2 separate regions of the Homo sapiens genome follow, and region 1 is linked to region 2. Evidence: promoter capture Hi-C in 16 types of primary human blood cells and fetal thymus (Javierre and others, 2016). All regions are on one chromosome and are shown on one strand. Each heading gives the region's core, a stretch centred on a gene start or on the middle of the fragment in contact. The rest is flanking DNA. Distances are from core to core; before and after follow the strand shown.

Region 1 (4,812 bases), core at 112-2,611, 530 kb before region 2:
ATGTAGACTTTCTCAACATCTGCTGCCTATGGTAAGGATCTGCAGCCAGGTTCTCAGAAGCAGTACCTACCAATTCTTAACAGCAGGTGGCAATGTTGTACAAGTTAACGACAGAACTACTTTTATGCCACATGAGAGGAAGATACAAGGAGTCAAAAGGGGGAAAAAAACAGGTTTGGGTTCATAGTAGCAGGAACATGAACAGAATAGCCTGAGATTTTAACAACATAACTCATTCCCTCTTCCACCTTTGTACTTTATCCAGGTCAACACATCAGGGTTCTCTAACAATTCCAGTATTCTGCTTCTTTACTGTAAAATACATGTAATTCTTGCCACTGTGATTAAATAAGCCCTGTGATAGCAGGGTTAAAAAGAGATTACAGAAAGGATAAACTCTACCTACTTTCTTGAGAGATGTGGGAAAGATTTCAAGTGACAGCATTTTTCATAGCTGTTTATAAACATGGTCATTTATATCCACATTTTCTCTTATTTACATTAGTTTTGGCCCTTAGGCACCTCATACTCCTACAGTGATTATTGGCTTTGCTTTCATTGGCTTTGTATTTTTAAGTATTTACCCTCTTAATGGCCCTCCTAGATATCTATTTTATACATCATATTTCTTAATTATCTAGATGGAACACTGAAGGACAGGAATTAAGTAAGTGACTGGCCATGCAAGAAGAGTTGTAAATTTTACTTATTTTTCCTTGGTAGAAGTTATGTTAAAAATTCAAGCAACCACGTATCTAACAGAAGAGTTTTATCTAGGATGTATAAAAAAACTCTGAAAACTCAATAGTAAAAAGAACAAATGACCTAAATAGAAAATAGACAAAAGACATGAGCAGACATTTCACTGAAGAGGATGTGTAGATGGCAAATTAGCACACGAAAAGATACTCAACATCATTAGCCATTGGAAAATGCAAATTAAAACCACATGTGGTATCATTACACACATCTATATGAATGGTTAAGATAAAAAATAGTAGTAATACCAAACGCTGGTGAGGATGTGAAGAAACTGGATCAGTCATACATTGCTGTATGAATTGTATGAGTGGCTGTATGTAAAAGGTACAGCCACTCTGGAAAAAAGAGTAGGGTAGTTTCTTACAAAGATATACGTGTTTACCACACAACCCAGCAATTGCCCTTTTGGGCATTTATCCCAGAAAATGAAAATGTGTGTTCACATAAAAACCTGTACATGAATGTTCACAGCAGCTTTATTAGTAAGGGCAAAAAACTGAAAACAACTCTTTTGTCCTTTAGTAGGTGAATGGTTAAGCAAACTGTGGTACATCCATACCATGGGATACGACTCAACAATCAAAAGGAACTGCCCAGACTTCACCACGATGCAATATATGCATGTAAGAAATCTGCACTTATACCCCCTAAATATATAAAACATTTTTAAAAGAAAAAAAGGAAGAAGATACATGCAACAACTTGGATGGATTTCAAGGGAATTATGCTGAATGAAAAAAAGTCAACCTCATAAGATTACATTCTATATGATTCCATTCATATGACATTCTTGAAATGACAAAATTACAAAGATGGAAGACAGAACAGTGGTAGCCACAGGTTGGGGTGAGGGGATAAGAAAGGGATGTGGCTGTGGCTGTAAAAGCGCAGCACAAGGGATCCATGTGATAGAACTGTTCTGTCTCTTGTGATGGTGGTCACATGAATCTACACATGATAATACTGCATATAATTGTCTAAAATGACATTTTCTTCAAGAGTTATCTACAGTTTAAAGCTCACTTTTATGAAGTGTCACATCCATCACCATTTTAAGAGACATAAAATCATGAAAAGATATCACCAGAAGCTACGTAAACATTTCAGCTAAGGGTAAAGAGAAAGTTAAGAGTGTTTTCACAAGGAAATTGAAAGAAGGCAATCCGAATGAAGTCAACTTGGTCACACAAAAATCTTGGTAAAAGAACTAGAATGGAAGCCCAAACTGCTGAGCAAGTGGGAGAAGAAAAGAAAACTTGGTTCAAACAGATCACACAAGGGAACCCAGGACAAATGCTGACTTTGGCATTATCTAGGTAACCCTTTTTTTTGTCATAGGTGACTCTAATAATAGACCTGTTGTTGCAAAACCAGTCAAAATCCTACCAAATTAAAAAGAAGTCCCTCATTGACTTGTTGGGTGTAGGTGGTACCCCATGTCCTCGCACACCAAAAGAGATCATTTCTGGCAAGAAAGCTCCTACATGCCTTGATGGTGCTGCTGGTAGGATGCCTTAGGCCAGGCCCATCCCAGCGATGTTCTGCTGGCTGTGGTAAAAGGTGGGAGGAGAATATGCCTTATTCATTACTCAATCAACTTCTTAGCCTTGAAGAAGCATCACAGGTAGAAGACCTGCCAGGTGGCTAGTCCAGTGAGGCAGAACATTGAAAAGATGCTGAAGTGTAGGACCCAAGTGTTTGTTGACTCACTGGTATCACCATCTCCTCTTCTCTCTTCTTCATGTAGGCAAAATCATTAACAATAGATTCTGAAAGGTCTTCTAGGTGTCGCAGCTTCACCTCTAATGGTTTGAGCTTCTCAACTTTTGCAATCTCTCTGTAATTTTTCACCTCCACTCCATGCTTCATGTCTAGGATCACAAGTTGGTCAGGTATCTGCCCTGTTTCCTTGCTCTCAAAACACACTTCAAACATGTCATAATCTTCAGTGGTAAAGGCAAATTTCCCCTTGGTTGTATTCTTTTTGGAGTAGAAAATATGGCCAGCAGAATCTGTGATCTTGAGGTGGCTGCACAGGCCACCAGTGCCCCCAGACTGGTCAGAGATCTCGTATGTGCCAGTCACTAGTAGGTCCTTGTGGATCTCCTCATGGAAGCAGTTGTGAGAATTAATGGACAGATGGAAGGAGATGGCGAGGACCAAGCTGGGGCCCAGCAGGAACAAAAGCAGCAACGCCGATGGACAAGGGCCATGCCGGGCTGGTGGGCCAGACAAACCAGACATGGTGCTGGAGACTCATTCCCCCTTTAGCCCTTCTGCTGGGGATCAACACCCACTACTATGAGTCCTCTACCATGATGTGTTCAGGCCCCAACACTGTCCTATCTATGCTCCCCGTCCTCCTGAAAAGCTAGTTTTGACCTTTCCTCAGCTTAGGCAGAGGCCTGTGTCTTTCTCCACGGTTAGAGACCAGGTGGCAGGGAAGGACACAACCAGCACAAAGACTCAGACCACAGGTCCATCCTGCCCTCTACCTGGGATGACTTTTCAGGTCTTGCTTCCTTTCTCTGGAGCAGGACTTCAAGCTTCCAAACCTGATGTCATCTCCAGGCTGGAGCGGGGGGACGAACCATAGACCCCTCACATCCTGAGAACTCAGGGGAGCTGGAGCTGGAGGCACAAGAGAGAAGGTGAGTCTGCCCCCACTCTCTGCTTCTGTGGTAGGTGCTGCAGCTTCACTCACGAATCCCTTCTCTACAAGCCCCAGACAAATCTCTTGTTACCCTCAGGCCTTTGCTTTCCTCCTCCTTTTTCTATCTTGTCCTCTTTCCTTGCTGTTATTTGCCCCTGTTATCTGCCCATAAGTAGGTTTGTGTTTTATTTACCCTAGAAAAATGCTATTTCAGCCACAAAAAATAGTTCAAGTGTCCTTCCCAGGCAGCTGGCTCCCAGTCCCTTCACTTCTATGTCATCCACTCCTTAGGCTGTTTGGGAAAAATGCTAATTACATTTTTCCTCTGCTCTGACACCACAACAACAATCAACAAAGACTTCGTGACCAAATGTATGGAGGGTTTTTCCCATGTTCCAAGCAGCTCTAATTCAATTCAATTCTGGTGCTCTCTTGGAGATAGCCTCAGATCCCACAGGCTGAGGGCTCAGTCTCTGAGACTGTCCACTCAAGGCACTAGTTGTAAGTTCGGGGTTTCCAAACTTGAGACCAAAAGGATTCAAGTTGGGGTTCCCATGACCCTCACTTTGGGTTCTATTAATTTGCTGGAGCATCTCACAGAACTCAGGGAAACACTTAGATTTACAAGTTTAGGCTGGGCGCAGTGGCTCATGCCTGTAATCCCAGCAATTTGGGAGGCCGAGGTGGGCAGATCACTTGAGGTCAGGAGTTCGAGACCAACGTGGCCAATATAGTGAAACCCCGTCTCTACAAAAGATACAAAAATTAGCCAGGCATGGTGGTGTGCATCTGTAGTCTCAGTTACTTGGGAGGATGAGGCATGAGAATCACTTGAACCCAGGAGGCAGAGGTTGCAGTGAGCTGAGATCATGCCACTGCACTCCAGCCTGGGTGGCAGAGTGAGACCCTGTCTCAGAAAAGAAAAAGAAAGATTTACCAATTTATTATAAAGGATAAAGATGAAGAAATGTGTAAGCTGAGGTATGGGGGAAGGGGTGCAGAGTTTTCATGCCCTTCCTGGGTGCATCACCCTCTAGGATCCTGTCCACTTAGCTATCCAGCAGCTCTCTGAACCCTGCCCTCTTAGGTTTGTATAGAGGCTTTATTATGTAGGTATGATTGATTAAACCATTGGCCATTGGTGATAAACTTAACCTTTAGCTCCTTTCCCCTCTCTTGAGTTTGGGGCATTGGAGCTGAGAATCCCAACCCTGTAATCGTGCCTTGGCCTTTCCAGTGACCAGCTTCATCCTAAAGCTGTCAGTCAACATAAGTCTATGAAAAGGCAGCACTTTGGAGATTACAAGGATTTTAGGAGTTGTATGCCAGGTTATGGGGATGAAGACCAAATATGTATTTCACACTATCCCACAGGGTTTGCTGGCCAGCTCTGTTTT
Region 2 (4,729 bases), core at 1,929-4,428:
AGCCGACACAGCACACGGATATTTCCTGCAGTGGGGATCAGGTCAGCATAATGCCTCGCAGACCCTAAAGCACAGAGAAGCTGCACTTCTTCCAGCCGCCCTCCCTGCCCCGCTAGGCTCCCAAGCCTGTCATACCCTTGAGTTCTGGCAGCCGCCCTGGGCATCCGGCTGGGGGCCCTTGCTGCCCCTCAGGGAGCTGAGTGCCAGGCCCTCCAGATGACAGTGCCCCCAAGGCCCAGGACACCTGAGGGAACAGGGATGTACAGAAGGCAAGGGGTCAGCCAAGGAGCTGCGGAGGTGGGGGGTGGGAGGGTCCTGAGAGCAGCAGGGAGCCCCCACAGGCCCGCTCAGCTGTGCTAAGCCACAACTTTCAGTGGCTCTGGGCCCCTGGGGACATCATTGAGTAACCCCAGGATAAAGCCCAGGAATGACAGGCAGGAACACCACATCATCTGTCTCCTCCGTGCTTCTGGGCAATGCTTTAAGAGTTTACTGTCAACCAAGTATGCATAGAATTAAAATAAGGCCCAGAAGTGGAATCCCACCCTGGGTCACACAGAAGCTGTTTGGGTTCCAGAGCCCCACTTATTAGTACAGCCAACTCCCCAGGAACGCCCCCGTCAAAAGAACAGTGAATAGGCTGCCCAGAGAGGAGGGGCTAGGCGGGGAGGGGTCCTGACCTGGCCCCGGGCCTCACTCAGCGAACCCTGACAGCTCTGGGTAAAGGTGCTGACCAAACCTCGGAGGTCCCCGCAGCCCTGACGCAGGCTGGCCATCCGTGCCCGAAGTCCTGGAGAGGGAAGTCTGTTGGAAGGGAAGGCCCAGCCTCCAGGGCCTCCCATGAGCCCCAACCCCAACCCTTACCTGCCAGCTGCCCATGCATCTGCTGTAGCTCACGCCTGCAGTTCTGCTCCGTCTCCTGCTGGAGCTGCTGGAGGGCCCCTTGAAGGCCCTGCAGCTGCACCTCCTGCACCCCCAGCTGCCCCGCCCAACCCCACCCCTGTCACTGAGGAAACAGGCACTTACCAGGCCCTGCCTCAGATAAGCCCCTCCCAAAACCCCAGCCCGCCTCACCCCTGAGCCATGGATCCCTGGGCCCCATGCCCACCTGGGCTCGGAGGGCTTCTGTGGTGTCTTGGGCCTCCTGAAGCCGGCCCTGGAGCTCTAGCAATGCCTCTGCCTCCTCCTGCGGGAGGGTGGGGGCCAGGAGGGACTCAGAGAGGGACGGTCTGTGGTACCATTTCACAGATGGGAAAGTCAAGTCAAGAGGTGGGCAGAGCTGGCTGTGAACCCATGCCTCCCAGCTCCACGCAGACCTCCTTCCCACAGTCCCTCTGCTCTCCTGGGGTCAGCCACTCAGAGGGGCCACGGAGAGGGGGGTCTTCCCATTGGCATCAGCCTCCCTGATGGGGCTGCCCTACACAGACCATCCCGGGAGGTCCTGAGGAGGCTCGGGCCCTGTGGCTGCATGCCAGGTGTGCAAGAGCCCCAGGCTGCAGGAACGGCTGCAGCTCGGGAGCAGAGTACCTGCGGAGCCCTGATGGGGGGCCCGGGGCCCCAGTGCAGCAGGAGGTCCCGCATGAGACTCAGGCTCTGCTTCAGGGCCTCGTTCTCCAGAGTCAGATGCTGAACCCTTTTCTCTGAGTCCGTCGCCCCCTGGTGGAGAGGAAACCTCGGCACTCACCTGAAGCACCCCCTCCATGCCCGGCCCTGCCAGGTCTCCCTGCAGCCTCACCACGCCCAGGCGCAGTCGACCCAACTCCTCCTCCTGCTGTTCCAGCTGCTGCTTCAGCTCCTCCAGCTGGGGAGAAGTAAGAGAGACAGGGTGGACCTCCTTTTTCTGGCGTCCCAGCCGGCAATCCCTTCTGGCTCCAGGGACCTCACCTGTCCCAGGATGAGCTGCTCCAGCCGCTGCCACGCCCTCTGATCCTCCTCCAACTGGAGGGGCTGCTGTCCCTGGGTCTCATCCCCCAGTGGCTCGCCTGGGACTGCGGTGAAGTGGGAAGGGCTTTCTTCTTGGGATGTGGATCCTGGAGTAGGGTGGGCCCAGTTAGCACTGAAGAGGTCTCTAGTCCAAATCTTCCGGAACATGACCCCGAACTCCAGGCCGCCCAGGTTCTACCGGGATTTGCTCCCTCCAGAGTTCTTCTTCAACTTACTGTCCTTTACTCACCATCTGGAGAGGGGGGCCGGACCCGAGGGGCTGGCTGAGTCCCCTGGAGCAGGGCCTGCCTCCCCCTGGGGCTTCGAAGCCATGCCAGAAGGGCCAAGAGCTGACTGGTCACTGTCAACAGTGAGGGGACCTCGCCAGACTGCGAAGGAGACAAGAATCCGAGCAGGGCTGTGAAAGCCAGGAAGGCCGGGGCAGGTGGTACCTGCCAGCAGCCCCCTCCGCCGCGCTCACCTGGCCCAGGTCCGCCGGGCCCCCGCAGCTCTCTTCCGCCCCCAGCTGGACGGAGAGGAACTCGGCGAGGCGCAGTAGGGCCTCTTCCAGGGACACCGCGGCCGCGCGGCCCTCGGCTGCGCCTTCCGACCCATCCTCAGGCTCGGAGCTGGCTGCCGGTCAGGGAGGAGGGCGGGAGACATTTCGGGTCACGTGCTTGAGCCAGGCCTCCGCCCCTCCCTGGGAGGTCCCGGCACCGCCCTCGCACCGCGGGACTCCCAGCCCGCACCTACCGGCCAGGCCGGTCAGCTCGGTCCACAGCTCTGGCGCGGGCAGGTCTGGGCGCCGGCGACCCCGGGGCTTGCGGGCTCTCTAGGGAGGGGGCAGGGGCGCCCCTGAGGAGGGGGGCAGGCAGCCTGCTGGCCCCTTCCCTCCGCGAACCGGGCCGGAGGATTGGGGCCGAAGTCTACGCTTCCAGCATCGGGGCCGAGCCGAGGGTCCTCGGCACGGCCCCGTCGCCCCGCGCCCCGTGCCCGCCCCCGCCCCGGGAACCTCGGCGTGGGGGTGGGGCAGGCGGCGGGAGACGACGGGCTGCACGGCCAGCCCCGCTCACCTGGGCGGGGTCCCCGGGCTCCGCGGCCGCCGCGGCGCCACCATCCCTGCGGAAGAGGCTGTAGAAGATGTAGATGAGCAACGAGTAAAAGGCGTACATGGGAGCGCGGGGCGGCAGAGGGCCCCGCTTCGCGCCGCCCCGCGTCCCCGCGCCCAGACTCGGCGCCCGCCCGCCGCAGTGCCGGTGCGCATGCTCGCGACGGCCGCCCCCACGGCCCGGCTCCCACGGCTGGAAGGCGAGCGCGGGGACGGGGGTACTAGAAACAGGTGCCCGCGGCCGCACCTGGAGACCCGCCGTTTCTCACGGCGCCGCCCGGCGCGCCCCAACCCCTACACCGCGGACACCGGGCTGAGAGCGCCCACGGCTCCCGCGACCCTCCTCTCGGAATCCCTCCCACCCTCCGCGTAGTCCCCCACCGCTCCGGTTTCGCGGAGCCTTCAACACGCCGGGGTTCTCCTTCCTCTCCCTACAGCCCCGCCCATCTCAGCCCCGCCCATCTCAGCCCCGCCCAGACCCCCCCTCCTCGCAGCCCCGCCCAAACCCCGTTCCTTGCAGCCTCGCCCAGGCTCCTCCCCTCTCGGTCCCTCTCAGTCTCGCCCAGACCCCTCTCCTCGCAGCCCCGCCCAGGCCCCGCCCCTCGCAGCCACGCCCAGACCCCCCCATCGCATCCTCGCCCAGGCCCCGCCCCACCCAGGCCCCCTCCCTCTCAGACCCGCCGCTCTCAGCCCCGCCTAAACCTTATCTCCCTCAGCCCCGCCCAGACCCCCCGCCCCTCGCAGCCCCGCCCAGACCCCGCCCCTCGCAGCCCCGCCCCGGCCCTTCTCCCCTCATCACGCTCCTTCCAAACCACTATGCCCACGCACGCACCCACCCAAACAGAGCGTTTTCTGGTCCCCGAGCTCCTCCCGACCCCACCCGCTCCTACGGCCTCCAACCGGCCCCCCCCAGGTCTCGACCCTCTCCCCCAGGCCTCGACCCTCCCCCCCCAGCCGCTCTAGCCCCGCCCGGCCGCTCTAGCCTCCGCTCCTCTCGCTGGTGGAGGTTCCCGACCGCGCTCGCTCCCGCAACTGGGGGCACGGCAGAGGAGGCAGGGCCGACGGCGGTGGGCGGTGCGTTGCGCAGGCTCGGGCCTCCCGCTCGCCGCTGCGTTGGGACCGCGCAGCCCGGTAACTGCGCACGGCTGGCCTCCCGGAGTCCTGCGCCGTCGCTCCTCCTGGACCCGGGTTCCCAGGACAACGCCTCCCGGAACGCAGGGAGCAGGCCGAGGCCGCCGCGTGGGCCTGCAGCGCCTCGCCGCTCTCTCTTCCCCAGGCCCGCACTCCCACTTGGGCTCCAGGGCCCCAGGGCTGACGTTCCCCCCAGCTTAGACCCTGAGTCGTTTTCCCCCGTTTCCCGGCTGAATTAGGTTCTTCTTCTCCACAGGTGTGTGCAGTGGCCTCAGGGATCCGGAAAGTCTAGGACTGAACTTCTCCTAACATCCAGTAATGGGGACCTGGAACCTGGGCTTACTAGAGTGCCGCGCGTAGGGCTCCAGGTCGCTGGCTTCTGCGCTTCCTTCCTCTCCAAAGTTGAGTATCTCCTATCTGTGTCCTCGTACATACTGCCGCCTGAGGTGCCATGGCCCCCAAGCCGGGGGCCGAGTGGAGCACAGCCCTGTCCCATCTGGTGCTGGGAGTGGTGTCTCTGCACGCAGCCGTGAGCACAGCCGAGGTGAGTACACTGGGGCTGAGCAG

What was found. The method cuts DNA at HindIII sites, captures the fragments that hold promoters and counts their contacts. A CHiCAGO score of 5 or more calls a contact.
Region 1: a fragment that was not itself captured here is called in contact with the fragment with the promoter of KIFC2 in region 2 in 1 of 17 cell types (fetal thymus); the score reaches 5.5 in fetal thymus.

Annotation. Positions count from the first base shown.
Region 1 is chr8:144,993,080-144,997,891 of GRCh38, reverse strand. It overlaps the pseudogene ZNF252P and the pseudogene TMED10P1. Among named protein-coding and RNA genes, the nearest start is that of ZNF252P-AS1, 7.3 kb to the left of the region's middle. The HindIII fragment of the contact is 3,899 bases long and covers 1-3,310 here.
Region 2 is chr8:144,464,786-144,469,514 of GRCh38, reverse strand. It overlaps KIFC2 (kinesin family member C2), which reads right to left and starts at 3,178. Exons shown (of 18, transcript NM_001369769.2): 1 at 2,997-3,178; 2 at 2,677-2,755; 3 at 2,405-2,556; 4 at 2,174-2,312; 5 at 1,885-2,030; 6 at 1,736-1,801; 7 at 1,528-1,656; 8 at 1,109-1,186; 9 at 865-979; 10 at 681-790; 11 at 136-244; 12 at 1-25. The coding sequence starts at 3,095. TMEM276-ZFTRAF1 (TMEM276-ZFTRAF1 readthrough) reads left to right here and starts at 3,814. Exons shown (of 5, transcript NM_001408018.1): 1 at 3,814-3,944; 2 at 4,419-4,706. The coding sequence starts at 4,614. TMEM276 (transmembrane protein 276) reads left to right here and starts at 4,023. Exons shown (of 3, transcript NM_032687.4): 1 at 4,023-4,162; 2 at 4,419-4,706. The coding sequence starts at 4,614. RefSeq lists enhancers at 2,185-2,284, 1,975-2,811 and silencers at 2,455-2,514, 2,585-2,894, 2,945-3,504, 3,565-3,694, 3,765-4,024 and 1 more. The HindIII fragment of the contact is 25,846 bases long and covers 1-4,729 here.